Linked DNA regions of Homo sapiens: all the other regions are linked to region 1. Evidence: promoter capture Hi-C in 16 types of primary human blood cells and fetal thymus (Javierre and others, 2016). All regions are on one chromosome and are shown on one strand. The core of a region is centred on a gene start or on the middle of the fragment in contact, and the rest is flanking DNA. Distances in the headings are between cores, read along the strand shown.

Region 1 (4,511 bases), core at 1,302-3,801:
GAAGGGGTCCTGGTGGTGCTGTCAACATGGAAATTTTAAAGGTCACATTTTTTTTTCCTTGAATTTCTTTTCAAATTTTCGTTGAGTTTTCCTTTTCAAATTTTAGGTGAGCTTCTTGCGACATGATGTTTACACTCTCAGAAGAATGAGGGGTTTTGCCTCTGTCTTGCTATATCACAACTTATGTCTTTAGAAACTATTTCATACTTCACACACCAAGACACTCCAGCGATGTTCTTTAGCAGAGGCAAGTAAGGAGTTTAGCATATAGAGAAAATAAAGCAGAGGGAAAAGTGTTACTTCTATAGTGTAAGGTGCATTCACGGTATTTTTCTCCCGAGTTGAGGCTGTAAACATCTATTTCTTGTTTTATGGCTCCATCTGCTGGCAGGTCTCAGAATGTCTTTCTCATCAACACCTTAAATCCTTGGAAAAGTTATGTTCACATTGTATTCCAAAAGGCACCATTTAGTTTTTACAAAGCGAAAGCCTTTGGAAAGCTATTTTTCTTTCAAACTACTGGCTTCCAACGCCTTTTGGCCTCGCCCCAAATTTATTAGCCTTCTCTGAGCATAAGAATAACTTGATGTTACTTCTTGAAATTCCTTGCACCCGTCCCAGACCTCCTGGAATCAGCGTGATCTGGGAGTCTGTATTATTTGGAAGTTCCCTCAGTGGATGCTTACACTCAGGCTAGTGTGGGAAACGCTGACATCTAACCTGCCCCTTTCATGGCACAGATGAGACGTAGGATTTGGGAAGGTGGCTTGGGGAGCCTTCAGCCCTCTCCAGCCCCCGATTCCCAGGCATGCGCTTTTAAGTATGAATAATAAGCAATATGTAGGCCGGGCTCTGTGGCTTATGCCTGTAATCCCTGCACATTGGGAGGCCAAGATGGGTGGATCACTTGAGCCCAGAAGTTTGAGACCGGCCTGGGCAACATGATGAAACCCTCTTTCTACAAGAAATACAAAAAAATTAGCTGGGTGTATTTCTCGTATTTCTACAAGAAATACAAAAAAATTACTACAGGTGGCACACACCTGTAGTACCAGCTACAGGGGAGGCTGAGGCAGGAGGATCACCTGAGCCCAGGAGGTCGAGGCTGCAGGGAGCCATGATCCCACCATTGCACTCCAGCCTGACAGAGCCAGACCCTGTCTCAAAACAAAACAAAGAACACAAAATTATGTGGGCATGGTGGTGGGTGCCTGTAGTCGCAGCTACTCAGGAGGCTGGGAGACGGAGGTTGCAGTGAGCCAAGATCCTGCCACTGCACTCCAGCCTGGGCGACAGAGTGAGACTCCGTCTCACAAAAAAAAAAAAGGAAAAGCACTATGTTTACCGTATAAATGCAGTTTTAAAACCTGTCTGCAGAGGCGACCCTATTTCTACTACCTCCTACAATCATGTTTATAGTTATGGAACATAACAGGTCAGGCAGTTAGTGAGCCTCAGTCCCACTTCCACCTTGACAAATAAACCTGTTCTATCTTACAATATTTCCGGTTGTTTTGTGGCTGTTGACTTTGCCTCCATGAGGAAATTAACTCCTATGGAGGGCACCTAGCTCGGCGTAGACCCGGTCGCTACCACCTGCGATGCCTTGGAAATGCAGCCGGCGGGGCCCACCTGTGGAGCCTGCAGACCGGAATCTCTGGTCTGTGTCCTAACCAGCCCTGCAGGTGATCCCCCGCAGGTGAAGGCTGAGAACCCCTGCGGTCCACGTTGGCATGCACCCAAGGCACAAGTCATTGAAAGCTAAATTTCCAGGTAACGGCCTCCTGGCACCTTAGACTTGCATTGCAGTTTTATTTTCTTTGGGGTCAAAGTTCAAATCTCTGTGTGCTGAGTGAAAGAGCTTCCGACGTTAAAGGCCAGACCAAGATCGAGTCCACTGCTACAGTAGGGCGCTCGGTGCCCACGTGGGCACCATTTCGAAGTCTATGGAGGGTCTACTTCGTGCGCCGCCGCCCAGTTCCACGAGCTAGTAGGGAACTGGCCCGACCCCGTGTCCGCCTGCAGGGGGCTGGCACTGGGGGAACTGCAGGAGTCAAGCCAGGGAAGGCCGGGGGTCTGGGCGAAGCAGAAGAGGAACAGGGCGGGGCCTGGGTGGGGCTGGCCGGGGCCTGTGGGGAGGGGGCAGGGCACGTGTTGGGTGTCTGGGCGGGGCCAGGCGGGGTCTTGGGGGGACAGGGGCGGAGCCTGTGGGGCGGGGGCGGGGCCTGTGGGGGCCTGGGCGTGGCGTCTAGGCAGGGCCAGGCGGGGTCTTGGCGGGATGGGGGCGGGGCCTATGGGGAGGGGCCAGGGCATGTGCGGGGTGTCTGTCCGGGGCCAGGCGGTGTCTTGGGGGGCCAGGGGCAGGGCCTGTGGGGCGGGGCGGGCCTGGCTTGTTGGGCCTGTGCCGGGTGTCCGGGAGGGGCCAGACGGGGTCTTGGAGGGGCGGGGCCGGGGCCTGTGGGGCGGGGCTCCTCTGGTCCCGCCCCGGCCACATCAGAAACCGCCGTTTGCGGGGCAGCCAATGAGGGCGTGGCGCGCGCCGCTTTCCGCCGTTACTGGGCGTATGGCGTACAGACACGAGGCCGGCGCCCGGGAGGCGGTGTTCATCCGCCCGGGAAAAGAGCGCCTGTTGCTCGCTGCCCGCGTGTCCCTGGCTCTCTCGGGAACCCAGCGCCGAAGGCGAGGTGGGCGCGGGCCGAAGGAGGTCCTGGGAGGTCGGCGGCGCGGAGGGATCTCCGCGGGAGCCGTTGGGGCTGTTGGCCTCGGGCTGAGGTGCAAGGACCAGGACTAGGGCGAGGGCAGCGGTCCAAGGTGCGGGGCCAGGCTGAGGTGCTAGGTGTGCGGGGGCCGGGATGCGGGGGCGGCGGCTGGGGGTCCGGGATGTGGAGGTGAGGCTCGAGGTGCGGGGACCGGGTTGCGGGGGCGAGGTCCCAGGTGCGGGGGATGCAGGAGCCGGGTGCGGGGTCGAGGTCCCAGGTGCGGGAGATGCAGGAGCCGGGTGCGGGGGCGAGGTCCCAGGTGTGGGAGATGCAGGAGCCGGGTGCGGGGGCGAGGTCCCAGGTGCAAGGGATGCAGGAGCCGGGTGCGGGGGCGAGGTCCCAGGTGCGGGAGATGCAGGAGCCGGGTGCGGGGGCGAGGTCCCAGGTGTGGGAGATGCAGGAGCCGGGTGCGGGGGCGAGGTCCCAGGTGCGGGAGATGCAGAAGCCGGGTGCGGGGGCGAGGTCCCAGGTGTGGGAGATGCAGGAGCCGGGTGCGGGGGCGAGGTCCCAGGTGCGGGGGATGCAGGAGCCGGGTGCGGGGGCGAGGTCCCAGGTGTGGGAGATGCAGGAGCCGGGTGCGGGGGCGAGGTCCCAGGTGCGGGGGATGCAGGAGCCGGGTGCGGGGGCGAGGTCCCAGGTTTGGGAGATGCAGGAGCCTGGGGTGCAGGGGCCGGGGTGCGGGGGCGATGTATCAGGTGTGGGGGGTGCGGGGCCGGGGGGAAGCGCTGAGGCCCGACTTGCCGGGGCTGTAGGGCCGGGGTGCGGGGGTGCAGGGGCCGGGGTGCGGGGGCGAGGTCCCAGGTGCAGGGGCCGGGGTGAGAGGCTGAGGCCTGAGTTGCCGGGGGTGCGGGGGCGGAGGTCTCCGCATTGGCGGCCGTGCGTGAGACTGCGGGGACCTGAGAGCTCTGCAGGAGGGCCTTCGGGACCTCCCGCACTACCCACGCGGCCGCGGGGCGCGATCTCTGCGGAGGGCGAGGGCCCCTTCCCGCGTCCGCCGCCGCTGCGCTGCGCCCCCGGGAGCCTTGGGAGCCGGACGTTGGGAAGAGGACGGAACTCCGGAGGACCCCAAGTGAGGCGGCGACCGCGACGGCCGGGCTCTGCGAGGCCCGGGGGTCCTCGCGGGTGCTGGCGGCCCGGCCCTTGGCACCTGTGGAGGGAAAGGGGCGGCGGGGCGGTGGCGTCCTGGGATGGATGCTCTCGCCGTCTTCAGCCCCGGCGGCCTCCAGGGCAAAGCCGGCTGCACCCCTGCGCAGCCTGTTCTCTGAGCGCTTTTCTTTTCGTTTTTAAGTTGTGGCCAGAGAGACCCCGCTCGCATAGAATGTACCGCTCAACGGTTTTTAGGCGTGTGGCGCGGTGGTGGTTCCCACGTGCACGGCGTGGTCCTGAGCTCAGCGCCGGAGGGACGTTAGGTGGAAGCGTCTTTGGCAGAGCTGGTAGCGAATCGGAGAGGTGATTTCCAGCGAGTGTGGTTATTGGAAGCACACACTTGCTTTCTGACTTTAAGAATTCAATATCCAGACTGAGGTGGTTTTGAAACTGGAAGGAGATAAAGCTGAAAACCAGAGTTGTGCTGGGAAACCTGGACGTAGAGCGCTGAGCCCCCCAGGTATTTAGTGACCAGCACAGCGCGCCGCCGTGGGTTTCAGGCCCTGGAGATGATGAGAATCAGCTGGAGGGCTGCTTCCAGTCGGCTTCTAACTCGGGAGGGCTGAGAGCCGCTCCCCACCCCGTAATTTCTGTTCCCAGCCAGTC
Region 2 (4,511 bases), core at 904-3,403, 330 kb before region 1:
GGATGGTCACTCCCCTTTACTCTGTGGGTGCCTCCTTGTCCTTCTGGGATTCATTAACTCTACTTGCTCCTCTGGACACAGTTCCTTCATGCAGCTTGCTCCAATGAACTCTCCAAGAGTGGGGTCTGTTTCCTTGCAGTATTTTCCTTTGGGAGGTGTGAGGCTGGGAGATTCCTCTTAGCACTGTGTATTGCCTCATTCTGCTGACAGGAATGGGTATTATCGGTTCAATCAAAGCATAATAACGAACCTGGGCAGAGGTTCATGGCAAAGAAGAGACCGAGCTCCAGGTGCTGCTTGGAAAACCAGTGCCCAGCAGCTCAAAGCTTGGAGAATTGCAGCCACTGAAAATTCATTTTTCAGTTGAACCCGGAATCCTCATGATGAAATGATGTTCAAAGGAAAGGGCATTCTTTATTCTGTTGGGAGAATCTGGTTCATCCTGAGCTCCCAGCACCATGCCGATTTACAGGAACAGTCAGAAGAAGTTCCACAGTTTGCCCCTACAGTCCCACAAAGAAAATTTCCCCCAAGGCCCTGCTTTGCCCGCTGCTCTGAGTTTTATTACTGTGCTTAAACATGGAGAGGGATCTACGAGCATTGTCCAAATCCCCCCTCCTTGGAAAACTGTTTTACATAAATAGCTAGAATGACAACACGTCCCTGGACTGCTTCACATCAATGATTGGAGAAAGCTTCATCCTTACCACCAACTCCCCTCCAACACTCACATGCCTATTTTGTTCTTATATGCCTGGGTCATTCTGTGTAGTATAAAGGAGACATTTCTGGAAAGATATCTCAAAATGAAGGAAAAAAACTAGGACTTTTAAGGACTGGAAATAGCAGCTACAGTGGTTTGGATGGGGAAAAATGGGACTGAGGACATGGGAAAACCTGACCTCTGTAAGCCCCATTCCCGCATCTGTTGAAAAATCAAGCAAAACAGGCCACAGGATGATCGCATGAATTCCATGTGATAACATGTGTGCAGAGCCAGGCATGCAGCAGGTGCTTAATAATGTGAGTTGAATTATAAACCTCTCTCCATAACTAAATCGTTGTCATAATTATTTTAGTTATAATGGCTAAAAATAGCTCAAACTTATCTAGGAGTCAATTATTTGAAAACTCGAGGGATAGATGGGTTTCAGGAGCCGCTTGATCCAGGAACACCCACAGTGTCTCAGGGACTCAGTGTTCCTGTCTCCACATGAGCTTTTTCCCCAGATCCCACACGGTGGGCAGATGGCAGCCAACAGCTCCAAACCAAATGCCATTCAGGTCAAGCCTGGGGGAAAGTGTGAGGGAGTGTTTCTTTTGCAATAGGTAAATAAAACAACAAAATCAACTTAGCTTCTTTCAGTCCCATAGGTTCTAATTGATTACATGCTTATCCCTGAACCAATATCCTTAGGGGCAGGAGATGCTGATTGATCAGGCCTGAGTCACATGACTACTCCTGAACCAATATCCTTAAGGGAATGTGAAGCTCTGATTGATCAGGCCTGTGTCACGTGACCACTCTTGAGCCAATATCCTTAGGGGAATGAGATCCTTTGATTGATCCGGCCTGAGTCACGTGACCATTCCTGAACCAATATCCTTAGGGGAATGTGAAGCTCTGATTGATCAGGCCTGAGTCATGTGACCACTCCTGAGCCAATATCCTTAGGGGAATGAGATCCTTTGATTGATCAGGCCTGAGTCACATGACCACTCCTGAACCAATATCCTTAGGGGAATGTGATCCTCTGATTGATCAGGCCCATGTCACGTGACCACTCTTGAGCCAATATCCTTAGGGGAATGAGATCCTTTGATTGATCAGGCCTGAGTCACATGACCACTCCTGAACCAATATCCTTAGGGGAATGTGATCCTCTGATTGATCAGGCCTGAATCTTATAACCACTTCTGGAACAGGAGCTGGGTTCAGCTCCACCTGAAGCACATGAGCTGAGTGAGAGAAGGGGTGACCTTTGCCAAGGCAAATCAATCCCTCCGGCCTGGAGAAGAGTAAACGGATATCAGAAAACCAGACGACTGTTTTCCACTATAATCCACCACCCACAAAACAGTCTGCTTGGCAGAAAGTGTTGTTGGATATTTGTTTTTGTCTCCTTAACAATCCCCTTTGCCCAAGAACAGTAACCCCTTTCTTCTGGAAACTGGCCCTTGCCTCCCTGTCTTTGAATCTGGCTTACACGTAAGCTATATAGTGTTTTTACTTGACGAGAAAAGGCTTGGCAGAGAACCATTTTCTAAGCCTCAGTTTCCTTATTTGTAACAGGAAATAAGAATAACCCTTGCCTCATGGAGCCATTTTGAAGATTAAATGAGATAATCTGTGTAGACCAATCAGAAGATTAAATGAGATAATCTGTGTAGACCAATATCCGAAATATTGGAGGTGCTTCATCAACTTTAGATGTTTTTATTACGAGTAGACTGATGGCATTTGGAAAGAGTAGAACATAAAGATAATTCCAGGTGGGTTTGGAAACTTATTTCTAGAAACAAGGCAAGTCTTAGACTTACCTCCCATGTTCTATCTTCCAAATATTTTGGTGCAGCCTGATATTGTAATCAGTCTTAGACTCTTAGATAGCTGACGTAAGATCATTCTTTTTCCCTTAGTCAACTGTTTTTGTGGCACTGCTAAGAACTTGTCTTTGTAGTGTTGCATGCTCTATTCAAAACCCCCTTGAGGAAGAATTGATGAGTTGAAGTGTTTTCAAGGACTATTATGGATCTGGAAATGTACAAGTGACCCAGGGATTTGTCATTCCTCTGCCATTATAGTCTCAATGTCTATGCAAAGAATGTTCCCATCTGAACCTCAGGGCACCTGGCAATGTCTTGCAAGGCGGGTTTGCTGCCCACGGCCTTGAGACACCACAGTCCTGTAGGATGCACCTGTCCACCCGGTTAGGAACAGTGTACAGAGACAGCTCTCCCTACACCGAGGAAATGTCACATCTTCACCTTACAAGATGTGACACTTTCCATTTCAACCGACAAAACCCAACCCAGCCTCACCTAACCCAAAAGCTAACTTATTAACTCAGATAACCGTGAAGCCCAGGGGATGGCCAGATTACAGTGGCTGGATCCAGATTTCACATAATTATCACCAGGAGGTGGTGTCTTTCGGTGACATGGTTCTATTAATCGCTTTAGCTGTTCCAGGCTCAAACTCCACTTGGTGGTGGGATGCCTCACCCCACCTTTGCGTTCCCATCCTCATCCTCAAAGCCTCACCACCCTCGAGGGTCCTCAGTAGGTCTTTGGTAGCCAGATCTGCTGCTCTGGACTGTGGGTGGCTCTGGTCCAAGTTCCCTTGAGTTGCCAGTGTCCATGGCCTTCAGAAACAGACAGAGCTGTCAGAAGTGGCAGGGAGCCTATAGCTAGAAGCAAGGAGGGGGACCGACAGCTGAAGGCCACCAGAGAGACCTTTTGTAACCTCAATTAAAACAAAAACAAGAAGGTAGAGAGGGGACTCCTTAAAGCTCCTTGCAAGCAGCAGTATGTCAGAAAATTGTGTGGGACATGGAGCACTTGCTGAGTATTTTAGATCTCCATGTATTTTGCACAAAAAGAAAAGGTAAGAAGCTTTTAATACCAGAAAGTTAGCCGTACCAGTGGTGCTAAGGAATGCTCTTCTCCAATCGAAGCTCCAGAGCCACTCTCCAAAGCTCACCTGGAACGGCTCATCAAATGCAGTGATCAGGGCTGGTCGCTGGGGCCTTCCCGTCTCCTGTCTGCCGCTGCAGCAAACAGAGGGGCAGCTCTCTGCTGCCTTGAGGCTGAGAGGGGGAGCCTCCCCTTGAGGGTGGAGGGGGAGACCTTCCCCACCCACTCTCCCAGAAATATTCCTGGAAGTGCCTTCTCTCTACTCCGCCACTTCTGGCTCATCCCCCAAACCCAGCTCCTCCCTCCAGTCTTTGTGTCCTTCCCCTTCTTCAGGAGGCTAAGATGATAGACACAGCAGAGCTCTGGTGCACGATTTTACGCAGAGGGTGGCAGCCATTTTCAGCTGATGCCCCAGCAGTCTCTTAAGCAGCATCACGCAGTCTCCATTTCTAATGCTACACATTTTCCCCTATGCAGCTTTGTGGGGCTACCCATCTCCAGCGCCGGAACTGAGCCACGACTGGCTTAAGAGAAGCAGTGGATTCGTCTGACTGGTCACAGTTCACACAGGAGCAAACGCCACACAATACAAAGCTAACAAAACTTTTACTAGATATAGGGGGACGGGGCCTTTATTGACGTGATCTGCTTCCTTCCTATATGTGAACCTCTTCCTGGAAGCCTGGTGGCCCAGGGACTGCTGGCAGCCACCTTGGATGATGCCATGAGTTGGGGCGGAACCTCCCTGAGAAGGGCCTCTCCCCCAAGGAAAGCAAAGCCAGGGGATGGAGAGAGGGAACCTGGACCCTGCTGCTGACATTGGAGCCCTGGATTCCTATATGCAGGCACTAATCTCAATCTGGATTCCTATATGC
Region 3 (4,511 bases), core at 604-3,103, 260 kb before region 1:
GCACTAGAGGATGGAGGCAGTGTGAGAGCCCTATGGGCACTGCTGAGGGGTGCAAAGTGGCTCTCCTTTTGCCAGTTAAGAAGGCGGCTGTGGGGTGCATGCCCGTCAGGCCTGTCATAACCGGCACGAATGATGTTGTCCGACAGGCATGGGGATCTACACAGGAATGAAAACAACTCCAATTTCGGCTACTTTCTATGTGCTGACCGTTGCACTGATGGCTTTAAATATTTTATTCTAAAGCTGTTTCTCACCACGACCCTATAGATGTTATTGTCTCCATTTTATGGCAACGGAATCCCAAAAGGGCAGAGAGGTGGTGAGTGCAGCAAAGGAAACTGTCAAGCAGTCATGAACACGGGGGTCCCAGGAAGCAGAGATCTGGTACGGGTTGTCTACTGCTGGGTCACAAATTACCTCCCAAACTGAGCATCTTAAACAACAAACATTCACTGCTTATTTCTGTGGGTCAGGAGTTTGGGAGCAGCGTAGCTCAGGGGTTCTGGTTTAGGGTCTCTCTGAGGTTGGCCAAGGATGGGCTACCGCCACTGAAGGAGGAGAAGGGGGATCTGCTTCCAAGATGGTGTGCTCACTGGGCTCTGAACGCTTGCATGTCCTCGTGACATGGCCCCTGACTTCTCCCAGAGGGAGTGATCCCCAGAGAGAGCAAGAAGGAGACTACCCTGACTTCCATGACCTAGTCACAGAAGTCACACACCATTGCTTCTGCCATGCTTTATTTCTTAGGAGTGAGTCACTGAGTCTGGCCCACACTCAAGGGGGAGGAATTAGTTTTCACCTCTTGAAGGGTGGAACATCAAATAATGCATTATATTTTAAAGCCACCAGAGATCTCTTTAGAAAATGGGGCTCCACATTGGCCTGTGGGGCTAGTGAGCTGGTGAAGGGCTCCCCCTCCACCCCCGAGGCGGGAGGCACCTGCGGAAACTCAGCGAGGTCACACGATGTGCACATCTCCACTTGACATGAGACACCATGGAGATCAGGGGCCATAGTGTTTTCCCTCCTCCCTGTGCTTTTAGCAGTTTCTAGTCATTTCCTTGTCATCCTCACATTGCTATGAACACTTAGTAATGTGAACACAAACCTCCCAGTGGACTCACATGCTCAGAGGGCACTCAAGACTGGGGGAAGCAATGCAATCACAGCAGCATAAATATTCCTGAAGTCTGGGAGCCTCAAGACAGAAACTAGGTCACCAGGGCCTGCTAGTCTGGAGGAGCTGGTGTGCTCCCTTTAGTGTGCATGTGAATGAAGACACCGTCAGAGATATTCCTAGGGGCCACAAATTCTCCTGCATCCTTGCTTGCTCCTCCGAAGGGAGGGTCAGATGACGTGTGCAGCCTGGCCTCAGAAAGCTTGTGGGCCAAGTCGAATAGTTGCAGATGGGCTGGGACGTCCAGAGTCTGTTGCTCTGGAACAGTTGCTTACAAGTCAATGTATGTCTTTCATTCACCCACAAAACCGCACCATGCAACTCCTATGAGCAATGAAATAAGAACAAGTAATAAGAGACAGTAACCAGGAGATCTGGGACAGAAACACCCACGTGGAGCTATAGTCGCAGTGGATCCTGTGAAGGAAGGGCGTTGAGTAAAGGGACAGAAAGTGACAGAATGTGTTTCAGGTGGGATGGCCAGGGAAAGCCTTGCCACAGAGGAGGCCTACAAGCAAAAGCCTGGTGGGTGGGGGGTTAGGGCTGGAGCAGCTAGGTGCCTCCCAGGGGCAGATGAGGACCTCACAGGCCCCCGCTGGGACTTCAATTGTGTTGTAAACGTGGTTGGGAATGGTGGAGGAGCAGAGGGAGCAGGACCTGTTCTAAGTTTTAGAGGAATTGCTCCCAGCAGAGAACTGGCTTTCAGGGCAAGAATGAGAGCAGGGAGACCAGCAAGGGGGTATGGTCTAGAGAGGAGGATGAGTCTGAGGTGGGGAGACAGAGGTGGAGGGAGACTTCGGTTCAACGGGGATCTGTTTACAGGAAAAGATGACAGGAGTTCCTGATCGATCCAAAAGACAAAAGACAGGGGGTGCAGACTCTGCTGGGATCATCCAGGGCCACAGGGTAGTAGGAGCAACTTCTGGAAGACAGAACTGAGACGGTTTAAGGGATGTCACAGGAAAGAAGAGTTATAGTGTGCAGTAGCTCATCCATTCCTCCCCATGATCCTATGAGCTCGGCCCTGCCATTGCACCCATTTCCCAGATGAGGACACTGAGTCCTAGAGAGGTTAAGTGACTTGCTCATGGTCACAGAGCAGGAGGTGGCAGAGCCAGGGCTCACATGCAGGTATCTCAGGGAAGGACACCCAAGCTTTAAAAAAAAATTTAAAGGATACACTGTCATCCTATTTACTAACAAAATTTAACAAAATGAGACTACAATATTCCTTCTCCAGATGCTGTGGAGTAAATGCAGGATGAAGTCACATTTTCATAATTTTAAAACAGTTCCTAAGATCATCAGTCAGCAAAGTGAAGAACGAGAACCTATTGGAAGGTTCCCTAGGACCTTTCTGTGAATGTCCTGCATTTTCTTTTGTAATACTTTCCATCTCTGGTAAAGTAGATCTGCTTTAAAAGTACTTTATTGTGTTTTGTTCCCGATTATAAAAGTAATATGTATTCATCCTAGAAATAATCACCACTCACAGTTTGGTGTATTTCCTTCTAGTCTTTTTTCCCCTAAAGCATGCATAAGTGCTTGTTTTTGCACGTGTAACTTAATACACATTATAGTGTGTGTCCCATGAAAAGCACGTCTCAAGGAAGTGAGAAGTTGTCTTTGCAAACCCTGATGAGGTGTGAGAGCCCTGGCCAGTGCCAGACAAAGGCAGTCCCAGGAGCCCTCTAAGAATGGAAATCCTGCCCTAGTGGCCCCACGGCTCTACACGCAGACAATATCCGTTTGCTTTTCCTCTTTTACCAGAGAGATTACATCACCATCTACACATTTTTTTTTTTTGGTTGCTGTTATAGACTGTTTTTGAAACAGTTTCCAGACTTCCTGTAGGCTGTTTGTTTTGTAAACGCTTATCCATCTGTCCTTCTCCTTGAGTAAATGGGTCCAGGAAACACCCACTCTTTAGGAACACTCCCCCGTCCACCATTGGGCTTTATTTAATGTGGAGCTAGATCTATATAAAGCAAAATAAAAATACACAAAATGAAAGTGATAGTGATAAGGATGGTGGTGGTCATGGTAGATGCCAGTTTCAAACACAAGTCTATGCCAGGTGCAATGCACTAGTCCATTCTCACGCTGCTATGAAGAAATATCCAAGACTGGATAATTTATAAAGAAAAGTGGTTTAATTGACTCACAGTTCTGTATGGCTGGAAAGACCTCAGGAAACTTACAATCACGGCAAAAGAGGAAGCAAACATGTCCTTCTTTACAAGGCGGCAGGAGAGAGAAGTGCTGAGCAAAGGGGGGAAAAGCTCCTTATAAAACCATCAACTCTCTTAAGAACTCACTCACTATCATGAGAACAGCATGAGGGCAACTGCCCCCATGATTCAATTACCTCCCACCAGATCCTCCCATGACATGTGGGGATTGTGGGAGCTACAACTCAAGATGAAATTTGGATGGGGACACAGCCAAAACATCATGCAGTGTTCAGAGTTTGGCATGCATTTGGTTATTTAAGAGTCATCACGATTTCCTTTTTCTCAAATGAGGAAACTGAGACATGAGCCCTTTGCCTAAGGCCACATAGTTGGGAAGAGCCATAAATCCAGTAACTAGTCTCTGCAATTCTCAAACCCAAGCTCCTAATCACTTATATAAATATTGCCTCCAATGAGATAAAGAGAAAAAGAGACAAATAGAGAAAAACGACAGAGATCGATTCAAAAAGAGAGAGAGATGGCAACACAGACACAGGCATAGGATGCCTCTTGGGTTAGATGACCATAGAAGACAAGAGATGTATCTGTGCACAAAAGCTGATGGTCTCAATGCACAAGAGTCACCCCCACACACCAGGTAGTTACACAGTAAACTTGGGCAGAAGGTGAAAAAATGCCAAATGAATGAGTTACTAAAGTTACCAGGAGGGAGAGATCAATATGGTTTGGGGTACAGAAGAAAGACCTATTAGAGGAGGTGGCCATGAATCTAGCTTTGGGGAATGGAGAGGTCTTAGGACCAGAAGGAAATCCTTTGATATTCTTCCACTGAGAGATGGAGTCTTCCTCTCCTACCCTTGAATCTGAGCCAGCTTGTGATTGGGTCCACAAAGCTGGTGTAGCTCCCACCTCATTTGCTGGAACATTCATGGTCGGAGCCCTTGGCTGCTGTGTAAGATATTCAACTGCCTCATAACTGGAGCTTTCACATGAAGATGCTCTGATAGACAGTCCCAGCTGAGCCCAGCCTTCCAGTGAAAGGTTTCAGAGCAAGAACGTTTTCAGTTCAGCAGCATATTAATAACCACCTGAGCAAGACGCAATGAAAAAAGCAAGATGATCATTTAAAAATGTATTTA

What was found. Contacts are between HindIII fragments. The CHiCAGO score rates a contact against its expected background, and 5 or more counts as called.
Region 2: a fragment that was not itself captured here is called in contact with the fragment with the promoter of PIWIL1 in region 1 in 3 of 17 cell types (naive CD4 T cells, activated CD4 T cells and total CD4 T cells); the score reaches 8.6 in naive CD4 T cells.
Region 3: a contact is called between a fragment that was not itself captured here and the fragment with the promoter of PIWIL1 in region 1, in 3 of 17 cell types (naive CD4 T cells, activated CD4 T cells and non-activated CD4 T cells). The highest score is 9.4, in naive CD4 T cells.

The regions. Positions count from the first base shown.
Region 1 is chr12:130,335,336-130,339,846 of GRCh38, forward strand. PIWIL1 (piwi like RNA-mediated gene silencing 1) reads left to right here and starts at 2,552. Exons shown (of 21, transcript NM_004764.5): 1 at 2,552-2,811. LOC101927786 (a long non-coding RNA gene) reads right to left here and starts at 905. Exons shown (of 3, transcript XR_242978.5): 1 at 1-905. The HindIII fragment of the contact is 10,112 bases long and covers 1-4,511 here.
Region 2 is chr12:130,002,918-130,007,428 of GRCh38, forward strand. No RefSeq gene overlaps it. Among named protein-coding and RNA genes, the nearest start is that of LINC02418, 37 kb to the right of the region's middle. The HindIII fragment of the contact is 2,920 bases long and covers 694-3,613 here.
Region 3 is chr12:130,074,105-130,078,615 of GRCh38, forward strand. No RefSeq gene overlaps it. Among named protein-coding and RNA genes, the nearest start is that of LINC02419, 5.0 kb to the left of the region's middle. RefSeq lists an enhancer at 1,494-2,021. The HindIII fragment of the contact is 953 bases long and covers 1,378-2,330 here.